2 separate regions of the Homo sapiens genome follow, and region 1 is linked to region 2. Evidence: promoter capture Hi-C in 16 types of primary human blood cells and fetal thymus (Javierre and others, 2016). All regions are on one chromosome and are shown on one strand. Each heading gives the region's core, a stretch centred on a gene start or on the middle of the fragment in contact. The rest is flanking DNA. Distances are from core to core; before and after follow the strand shown. Region 1 holds the start of PNPLA8 (patatin like domain 8, phospholipase A2). Region 2 holds the start of ING3 (inhibitor of growth family member 3).

What was found. The method cuts DNA at HindIII sites, captures the fragments that hold promoters and counts their contacts. A CHiCAGO score of 5 or more calls a contact.
Region 1: a contact is called between a fragment that was not itself captured here and the fragment with the promoter of ING3 in region 2, in 2 of 17 cell types (neutrophils and total CD4 T cells). The highest score is 8.1, in neutrophils.

The regions. Positions count from the first base shown.
Region 1 is chr7:108,523,092-108,527,633 of GRCh38, reverse strand. PNPLA8 (patatin like domain 8, phospholipase A2) reads left to right here and starts at 1,499. Exons shown (of 11, transcript NM_001256007.3): 1 at 1,499-1,605. It overlaps LOC124901722 (a long non-coding RNA gene), which reads right to left and starts at 1,159. Exons shown (of 2, transcript XR_007060473.1): 1 at 1-1,159. RefSeq lists enhancers at 881-1,220, 1,511-1,630, 1,402-2,362, 3,042-3,577. The HindIII fragment of the contact is 2,782 bases long and covers 637-3,418 here.
Region 2 is chr7:120,949,052-120,954,264 of GRCh38, reverse strand. ING3 (inhibitor of growth family member 3) reads right to left here and starts at 3,488. Exons shown (of 12, transcript NM_019071.3): 1 at 3,341-3,488; 2 at 3,030-3,101; 3 at 861-961. The coding sequence starts at 3,368. RefSeq lists an enhancer at 2,866-2,945. The HindIII fragment of the contact is 9,487 bases long and covers 1-5,213 here.

The sequences.
Region 1 (4,542 bases), core at 778-3,277, about 12 Mb after region 2:
TTGCTGGTTATAAATCCTAGCTGTTTTTGTTGTATTAAAACTTGAGGCCAATCTCTCTCCCCCATGGTGATAGTCATGGCACCTATTGCAATAGTTCTAAATGTCTTCCTTGACATTTTAACAAGTGTCAGAATAATTTTTCTTTAGCAACAAGGAGGAATCTGTCTCAAAAACTAAAGCTCCTTCCACACGCCTGTAAGGCTTAATTGGTGCATACATCTTTTAACTCTCCTGTAGCTAAATAACATGTCTGGCTTATCCACTGCTGGGGTTTACCAGGCATTATGATGTACATAATCCAGACACTGTGTCCCAAGAACATAGCAAGCTGGCTTTCCCTCCTTGATTTAAAAAAATCAAAACAACACAACTATCAGGGTAACATCCACTACATTTGACAGGTCAAAGAATCCCCTTCCTTAAGGACTTTACAATAACCTTACAGGGGGCTAAAGCATACATACCCATGGGTAGTGGGTAAGCCTTGAGAGTACAGTATAAGTCTTGATAACATTTTGAGGTTGATAACTAGTTGAAACTGATCTGTTTTCCCGACCTCAACGTAATTGCAAGGTCACTTCAAGAGGGTAAGGGGCTATTGCAACTACCCAAATTCGCTATTGTAGTATAAAAGCTTTAATTAACAGCATGTATAGGAATGCAAAGCTATGTTCTAATGAAACTTTAAAAAGCAGACACAAATATGAATGTCATATAATTGTCATCTGTCGCAAAACTTTTTTTTTAACCTTTGAAAAATGTGAAACCCATTTTTAGCTCCTAGTACAGCAGAACCTGCGGTGGGCTGGATTTGCCCTGAGGGCTGTAGTTTGCCCCTGTGGTACGTATGAAATGCCACAATTTTAAAAAGATGTGTTACGTGTGGGACCATTTGTGGGGCGGTTTATGCTAACTTCCAATACAGTAATATATGTCAACTCGCTTTTGAGTGACATTTAGTCTGGGTGGCCATGCCCAGGAATGGATATAGAGAAAGGGGCGCGGCCGCGCCGGGCACCACCCTCCAAGAGACTGGTATCGCAGCCCCCAGCTCCAAGGAACTCAGCGCAGGCAGGGGCTTCAGGGACGCGGAGAGGGAGGCTTATCTCTGCTGAAAGGGAATAGCGGCCCGCAAACAAGCAAACCAGGACACTGCTCCGAGGTCCCGCCCAGGAAGGCAAAACGAAGTCCCACCGCTCTCACACCCGGCAACCAACCAAGGCACAGCACGCCCCACCAGCAAGCCACGCCTCGCGCATCACGCACGCACGCACGCACGCACACACGTCTGTCGCGGCTTCCCGCCTTGCGCTCCGTCATGCTCTATTGCGCATATCTCGGGGCGGGGGAGGAACGGAGATTGACAAGGAGGCAGAGGCCTGAGCGAGGCGGAAAATCCTCACCCCGGCCCGCGGGTAGACCCAAACTTCTAGCGCGTCACTTCCGCTGGGGGCGGAGCGGGGCGGGGCTGAGTGGGTGGCGACCTAGCTGCTGCGCCAGTGTTTGTGTTGGAAGCTCAGCTGATGCAGGCCGGTTGGAGTGGACGTCATTGCCGGGAACGAGCGAGTCGCCGCTGCAGCCCTAGTGACTGCGGCCTGCATCCCGGTAAGTAGCCGCGAGGGGACAGGGGCGGGACGATAGGAGGCTGGTTGATCGTTCTGGACCCTTGTCCGGCGCTCCGGGTCGTCCTTTCTTTCTTTGGAGGGCACTTCCCGAGCGAGAGGGTGGGGACACGCCAGGCTTTGGGGAGGAGCTGGCGCTGGAAGGAGCCCGCAGGTCCTGGAGCTCATTGGTACTCGGCGCCCTCCGCCCCCGTGGGCTTTGCTGCCCCAGAAGCGCAAACCGTATTTGGTTTCGCAGGTCCCGCCCTGCTCCCCCTGTCCCATCCCCACGACTCCCTCCTCAATTTTCCAGAGTCTGTCTGCCTTCCCCTGGACTGTAGTGTTCTCCAGTAGTTAACTGGTCACTCTCAGGAGGGTTTCCCTAGTCTACATCATTCTCGACTGTCAGTGTGCACCTGGTGATTCTACTGCCTGATATTTTTTGTCAGTAATCTCTTTCTGACCCCATCCACATTTGATTCTATCCTTGACCGCTGTTGCTTAAGTGGATAAGGTGTATGAATCACTGTGTTGCAGTGCTTCCTATCCCTGTGTCATTTCTATCATTGTGCTGGAAGGAACCTGCTTTCCACGCCTAATACAATGATAACTTTAAAATGGTGACTCATAGGAAAAACTCAGGAGAGTTGTGACATAAGGGACTATCATATAATCCTGCTTAAAATACTGTTTTCAATTCCAAAACAGTTGTATCCTGGTTCTGCAGTCCTAATTTCTGAGAGTTCAAAAATGACAAATGTTTCAGTGTATTAAGAAAATGCTGTTAAACAGTGAAACATTAAGAGCTTATGCCTTGTGAGGCAGTTGTATCAAGCCCATTTTAGCTATTTTGTTAAATTGCTTATGCAAATTAGTTGTCCTTTCAATATAAGAACATGTTTTTATTTCGTAATTATAATCAACTTTTTCTTAATGTTGATCTCTTTTTTTATTTCTATATCAGGACTAAATTAAAATCTTGTAAACGCCCTTTTAATGAGTGATGTTGAATGAAAGGGCCAGTTTCACTAGTTTAGCTATTCACTTGTTTCACATGCAAAGTTGTTACAAGAACAGCCTGTACTTTGAGTTGTTTTTTTTTACCCCAGTTAGAGGGGTTGTGCTGAAGCTGCATATTGCTTCACTCATGGAATATATATTTGTAAAAAGGTCAGAGTTAGAATGCTGAGCCATAGACACCTTCCTGTCCTGCCATTTTTTGTTGTTGTTGGGAGTCTCTCTCTGTCGCCCAGGCTGGAGTGCCTTGGTGCGATCTCGACTCACTGCAAGGTTCAAACGATTCTCTTGCTTCAGCCTCCCGAGTAGCTGGGATTTACAGGCGTGCGCAACCACACCCGGCTAATTTTTTTAAGTAGAGACGGGTTTCCCCATGTTGGCCAGGCTGCTCTCAAACTCCTGGCCTCAGGTGATCCGCCCGCCTCGGCCTCCCAAAGTGCTGGGATTTCAGGCCTGAGCCACCGCACCTGGCCAGTCATTTCTTAGTTCTTATCTTTCTCTGCAGTACTCAAGTATTTTATTCTGTTCATTATCCATTACTTGAAAAAATTTGGTCCTGTCTTGGTTTTCAGTGTCCTGATTTTTTCAGGGTGGCTTTTCTCCTGTTTTGTTTCCTTTAGAGTCTTTTCTTCCTCTTCCTAGCTCTGGGTGGCACTCAAGGCTCTACCCCTGTCGCTCTCCCTAAACCAGAGTTTCGTGTTTGAAACCCAAATATACTTCAGTGGGCATGTGAATATCCTGAAATATTATGGAAAATATAGTTTGTATTGCAAATACACATTTTTCAAGGAAGAAAAGCTTTACTCAGGTTGCCTGATCCCAAAATAGTCATGTATTATTACTGTAAACTATCATCTGGTAAATACGTCTAATGTTGTGGTTTCTGCTGCCACTATGCTGGTAATTCCACAAGTAAATCCACAGTCTGTGTACATTTCCATTTGAATGTCCCACTGTTACTTCATCCTGTGAATCCAAAAGAAAATGTGTTTTTCTCTCCTATTAAATTGTCCCCTTCACAGTTTTCTCATATTCGCAAATGGCACTCTCCGTATTTTTCAGATTTAAAACCTTAGAGCTCTCTTAACACTTCCCTCTCTTTACCCCATTCTTGGCTGTCAAGTCCTGTGTTTTGTTGTTTTCTCTTTTTTCCCTTACTTTCAAAGTGTTCAGAGTGGCCCTCTTCCCCACACTAGTACTTGCTGGGTGAGGTGTCAGAGCCCCAGCATCAGAAAGTGGTCAGCTTGGGGTAGTAGGGTAGTAAGAAAAATTTACCGACAACACCGTAGGTTTGAAAAGGAAAGTTTTATTGGATAGAAAGAGTGCTGCAGAAGAGTGCAGCCAGGCGCCTCAGCAAGAGAGGACAGCTCACCGCAGTGGATTTTTTCTTAGGGGTATTTATGGACCTTAAAGCAGAAGCTGAAGGGTAACTTGGACCATATTAGCCACGTAGGTCATGATCAGTGATTACATTTATAGACATTTTGGTGCTTTGATATCAGCAAAAGTTGCACAGTGAGTTTCGACATGCATACATTCTGGACATGTATAGAGATTCTAGTTACTTATAAATTTCTGGGAAAGAATCCTGGTACCAGATGCCGGCTTTAGCTAATAGAGAAGTCTAATTGTTTCTGAATTCCTCAGATAAGGAGCTTTCCCTCTGGATGGTCTGCTCGATGGCCACCAGGTGATCTTTGCTCTCCTCAGTACTGTTACCTTCAGACTGTTGTCACCCTTTTGACTGTTATATTAATAATTAAGTGACATACTCTGTAAATTCATTCTTTCCATCCTTAGCTGGGTCTCCATCTAACAATTCCCTTAATTCCTCTAGTTAAAACTCCATTCCCTTCTCTAAGTGTTTGGTCCCAGCCTCTCCGTTTTGTTTTATTCGTACCTCCATTGTATTTATACTACCTCT
Region 2 (5,213 bases), core at 2,239-4,738:
TAGTAGAGACGAGGTTTCACCAGGTTGGCCAGGCTGGTCTCGAACTCCTGACCTCAGGTGATCCACCCGCCTCAGCCTCTCAAAGTGCTAGGATTATGGGTGTGAGCCACCACGCCAGGCCTCTTAGTTGATCCTTGAACAATTCTATGAACATTGGGTTTAGGAAGGCATTATTATTCAGAAATATTAAGATTTAATGTCACACAGCTAAATAGCAGAATCATGACCAAACTCAAGTCTTTTAAGTTGTTTTTCCAATGTATCCATCCCTAAATGAACTCAATCATACTTTCAAAGCAAACTTTGAGATGTACGTGTATACTCATTCAATTCTGGAAGACAGCTATAGCCACTATAAAACTAACAAAACCTCAAAGAATTCTATGTTTCCAGACCAATTCGTGTGCAAATTTAGAGTTTAAACTAGAAGGCTTTCTTAAATTCCTTCTAACTTTTAAGATTTCGTTCTTCTGTGGGTCCACTAATTTAAGTACCTAGCAATATATAAAATATTCTTCAAGGTCTGCTCATGTTTATTTACCTAGTTTGTGGCCAAAACTGGAATACAGTACTCTATCTCAACTAGAATAAAACAAACTAATAGAAAAAAAAGTAACTTTTAAATGGTCTGTCACTTTCTAATACTCAGTAATTATTGAAACAATATTTTTAATTACCAAAACGCTTTAATGACTAAAAATCCCTATCTGAAGCTCTAAACCACAATAAATTATTTATATTCTAAGGAGTCATTGATAATATTCTCTCATTTTGATATCCAGACCACTATTTAATTTTGAAATATCTTTTTCAGAGGGTCCCAATATTTCTTGATAAATTATCCAAAGTGTTGCACATACTTTTTTGATGGATGCCATTTGCTCTTCCCTCCACTCAGGTTTATTTTTCTTTGCATTCATAAAGAATTCACTGACTCTTTGTTCTAGTTGATCCATTGCATCTATGACATAATAAAAAAAATTCATATTAAATGACCAAATTCATATACTAAATATACATGGTTTGATTTAGGGAGGGAAAAAATCTGACAATACACACTCTTTCACCTTGCCAGTAACTTAAATATGTTATGCTTTGATTGTGTAAATATATAATGCCTCAATTATCTTCCTTTAAAAAGTTACAATTTTCCTTATTGACAGATTATTTTTGTTTTTGTTACTTCAAAATTTTTTCCAACAGCCAAAGTAGATAGGCTCTATACTATAATTTTTGAGCAATAAAGCCTTTAGGTCAAAAGCTAATGGTATTAAATCAGACAAATGTACCGAAACACAATTAAAACACCATTAGATAATCCTCACATTTCTTTTAACAAGAAAAAGTGATAAAAATATTTGGTATATGGCATTAAACATCTCATCATGTCATATCCCAACTGAAAGTAGTAGGTACAATCATTTAAACATTAATTCTAGGTAAGTTTTCCCCAAATTATATGCCAAGACTAATCATCTCATTGGATGTCTGCTAAAAAAAAAAAGGAAAAATTAATAAAAAAGATTCTGTTGTTATGTAAGTTGAGAAAAATCTTTTCATAATATACTTCTTTTGGAGATTTCCAGTCCACAATAGCCTTTTAAAGACTCTATGAAGTCCTATGGTTAATTTTTTAGAAGTATGTTCCTTTGTTTAAATAAGCATTTCTGAATTTATTTGGCACACAGTTCTGTTAATCCATAATACCTATTAACTTTAGAAAATTCTAGTTACTGTAAAGAAATGCACGTTTAAAAAGCCTGTAATATGTATAATGTAAGCCCAAATTACAAGAGAATTTAAAATTTTAAACAATAAAATATAAAAATAATTTAAAGTAAGTTACCCTTTATTTAATGCCTACTTTGTATCAGATACTAGAAATTCTAATCCATGTGTAACATTTTAAATCCTTGGATGATTCTCTTTTTATAGACAATGTAAGCCCCTCACAAGTGATAATACAGTCAGAGTCAATGAGTAAATTAGTAAAGCCCTAAAACAAACTCAGATCTGACATCAATGTCTGTGCTCAGTCCTGCAGAGAACACTACTTCAGCAAATCTTCAGCATTTCAACTACACTAAAATTAAAATGAATTTGTGAGATAGCTGGAGAACCACACACACAATTCATACTTCATATCACAATCCACTGAACAGAAAGTGGCTTCCATGCCACCACTTTTTATTATGTGCCACCTGAAACTTACCGGAAAAATATACTCATAAGCAAAGGGTATAGAAGTGGGTGTGTGGTCATGGGCAGAGAAGCCAGGAGCAGTGAAAAGGACAGGTTCTTAGCTGCAGCAGGTGGTCCCTGAGCCACCTATTTATAGTCGTTGCTCTATGAAAGAGCAAAGTTAATTTGGGGAAAAAGTCCTAGAGACTACCAAGCTATCACTGAAAGAAAAAGAAATGTTCATTAACTGCTAAAATTTTTAGTACAGCACATAAGAAACTTTACAGTGAAATCTAATTTCTGTCACTCATTTTAACCAAGAAAATGACGATTCTGTTACAATTTAAAATGTATCTAATGTGTAACTAAGTTTTCAAAATTTGACATTTGCCATGGTCTCTAAAGAGCTATATATAACCTCTGCTTCTGTGCTTTCCACTCTTGAAAAACTGTGAATAGGATGAACTTTAAAATAAGTATAAATGCTGAAATCTAAGTTCGATACGAAAAGGCTCAAGACGACATCTCAACATTTATTATGCTGACGTCCATTGAAACATAGATAACTATGTCAATGACGGTAGAGAAATATTTTTTGCACAATCCCACATTCTAGAAAGGAATACACGTGTCCCAATGCCTCCTGCTCTTGCAAAAGCCAGAAAAAAGTAGCATGGGAGGGAAGGGGAAGGCGAGATTCAGGGCTGCCAGTTCTTTTTGACAACTCCTTATGCACTAGCGGAGTGAGCCAGAGGACAGTGAAAGAGCACTAGGCGCTAGCAGTGATGACAAGCAAGTCTGGCACTGAACGCGCGCAGCGAACAGGAGTAGTAGACGCGCCGACTTACTCTGCACCTGCAGGTCCATCTCGCGCATTTCCGTGAAGCGGTCCCGCAGATCCATAGGAAGCTGCTCAATCACTGTCAAAGGGAGAGTCCGTCAGAGGGGCGGGGCCAACGGCGAAATACGCGCTTACGTCACTGCGCGCGTGCGTCAGGGGGGTCGAGGGGGCCGGCAGCCCACAACGAGGCTGCCAGTTACCGTGAGAAAGAAACATCCCCCGCCGCCCCCTCCCTCCCGCCATCTCGCTGCCCGTCCACTCGCGCTCTTGCCCGCCCGCACGTCCCACTGGCGGCCGCCGCCAGCGCCGCGCACTCACTTTCCAGATAGTCTTCTAGGTACAACATCGCGGCCCTTAGAGCTGAGGGAACAAGGGGGTCCAGGGGTTTATTTGTGTCACTCGCTGTCGCCGGAGTTTTGTCCCCTCCAATATGGCGCCTCCGCTAGCAGCACCCGCTCGACTCCGGCAAAAAAAAAAAAAGAAAAAAAAAAAAACCACTTTGGCGCCTGAGGCGCTTGCCTCACTGCCGCCCGGAGCTGCTATTGGTTGGTTCAAGCAATGACGTAGCCCGGCCGGTGTTCGCCCCCGTGCCTCTGTGGGAAATGTAGTTTTCTTCCTCCTCAGCGAGGGTTGGCGCGCTGGCGGCTCCCCTCGCAGAAACTACGAATACCGGGCGCCATTGCAAACAGTGCGTAACAGAATCCGAAATGCGGTGCCTCTGTTTATTTGTTGATTTTTGCACAGAGAATGGCGGGAGTTGTATGCACCTGCATAACACAACTAGGAACAACTTTTCACCTGTTCTTTGATGTGATTCCATGCCCCGGCGTTTGTGAGTTATGGGTTTCAAGAAGTGCCAGGCAAATAGCAAAGGTTCTAAACACTAGAATAATCAGCAAAGTTCGGGGAATTTGGATTGCTTAAAATAGAACTCTCTACTGGAATTTATCCTCATTATTCACTCTAAAATATAAAAGAGACACCTGGTTGGCTTACGTGTAATTTTAAAATAGTTTATACTGAGACTATGGAGTGAATATACATTTCCCAGATTAAAAGATGCACAAATAGTGTCAGTAGCCACTTATATATTCTAGTTTGCGGTCCATCTAATCGTCATTCTAATGTAATTGATCTATACATACAATCTGCATCCGCAAATAATAATAATAATAATCTTCATCATCACAGTGAGCAGCCATGAATTACGGATGCAGCCTTGATTTCTAATAGGCTGTTAATAGCAGTAACTTTATGTTGAGTAAATAGTCCATATTCGAGGTTGGTTGTCTTCGGCGTTCTTTAGTTTCTACTTTTCGACCTCTCCCAGCAAATGTTTTCCTGTGATATATTTAGTACGTCCCTACTCAGTTTCTTTTTAAATTGTTTTTTATTAAAAACTCTTGCACTCAATAAATGCTAGATATTGTTATTTTCCACTCTTCTTAACTTTTCGATTTTCTGGGGAAATTGTCATTAGTTCATAATTTATTGTTCATTTTCTGTTTTTCAAATTGCAGTTGAAACTGTGTGTGTGTGTTTCTTGCTTTCCTTCTCCATTACATACTCTTGTACTCAAGGTTTTCACTGCTCTTAAGCAGGAAACTTTCCTGTCGTGAATGATGAATCATGATGAATCTCAACGGAACCTTACTTCGATCCTAATAAGAATTAGAATTTTATAGTTTCTAGTTAAGTTTTTCATTACTTCCATCGAAAATCAAGTACTTTCGATCTTTTTCTCCCTTCTTTTTTTCCTCCTTTCTTCGTTTCCCATCCTTCCTTCTTCTGGCTGCTTTTAACATCTCTTTGACATCTTTTTGCAGTTTTGTAGTGATCTAAGTCTGAATTCCTTCCTTATTCCCTTTTCTTTCCTTAAAATTTTAAAATTATGCTTAGGATTTGAGGGGATTCCTGAATTTCAGGATTGGTGCCCTGCAACAATTCTAGAAAATTCTCAGCGTTTGTCTTTTCAGTATTGCTTATTTCTCATTTTTTCCATTAAGACTTTCTCTCTTTATTCTCTTATTTATCTTAATCTTTCTTTTATATGTTTTATTTTAGAATTTTCATAATTTTTCAGGTTTGGAAGTTCTATTCGGTTCTCTTTTCAAGACATCTTATAATTTCTTATACAAATTATTTAGTCTGTATCTTGTTTCTGTTAAACCTAATATTGAAACATTTATGG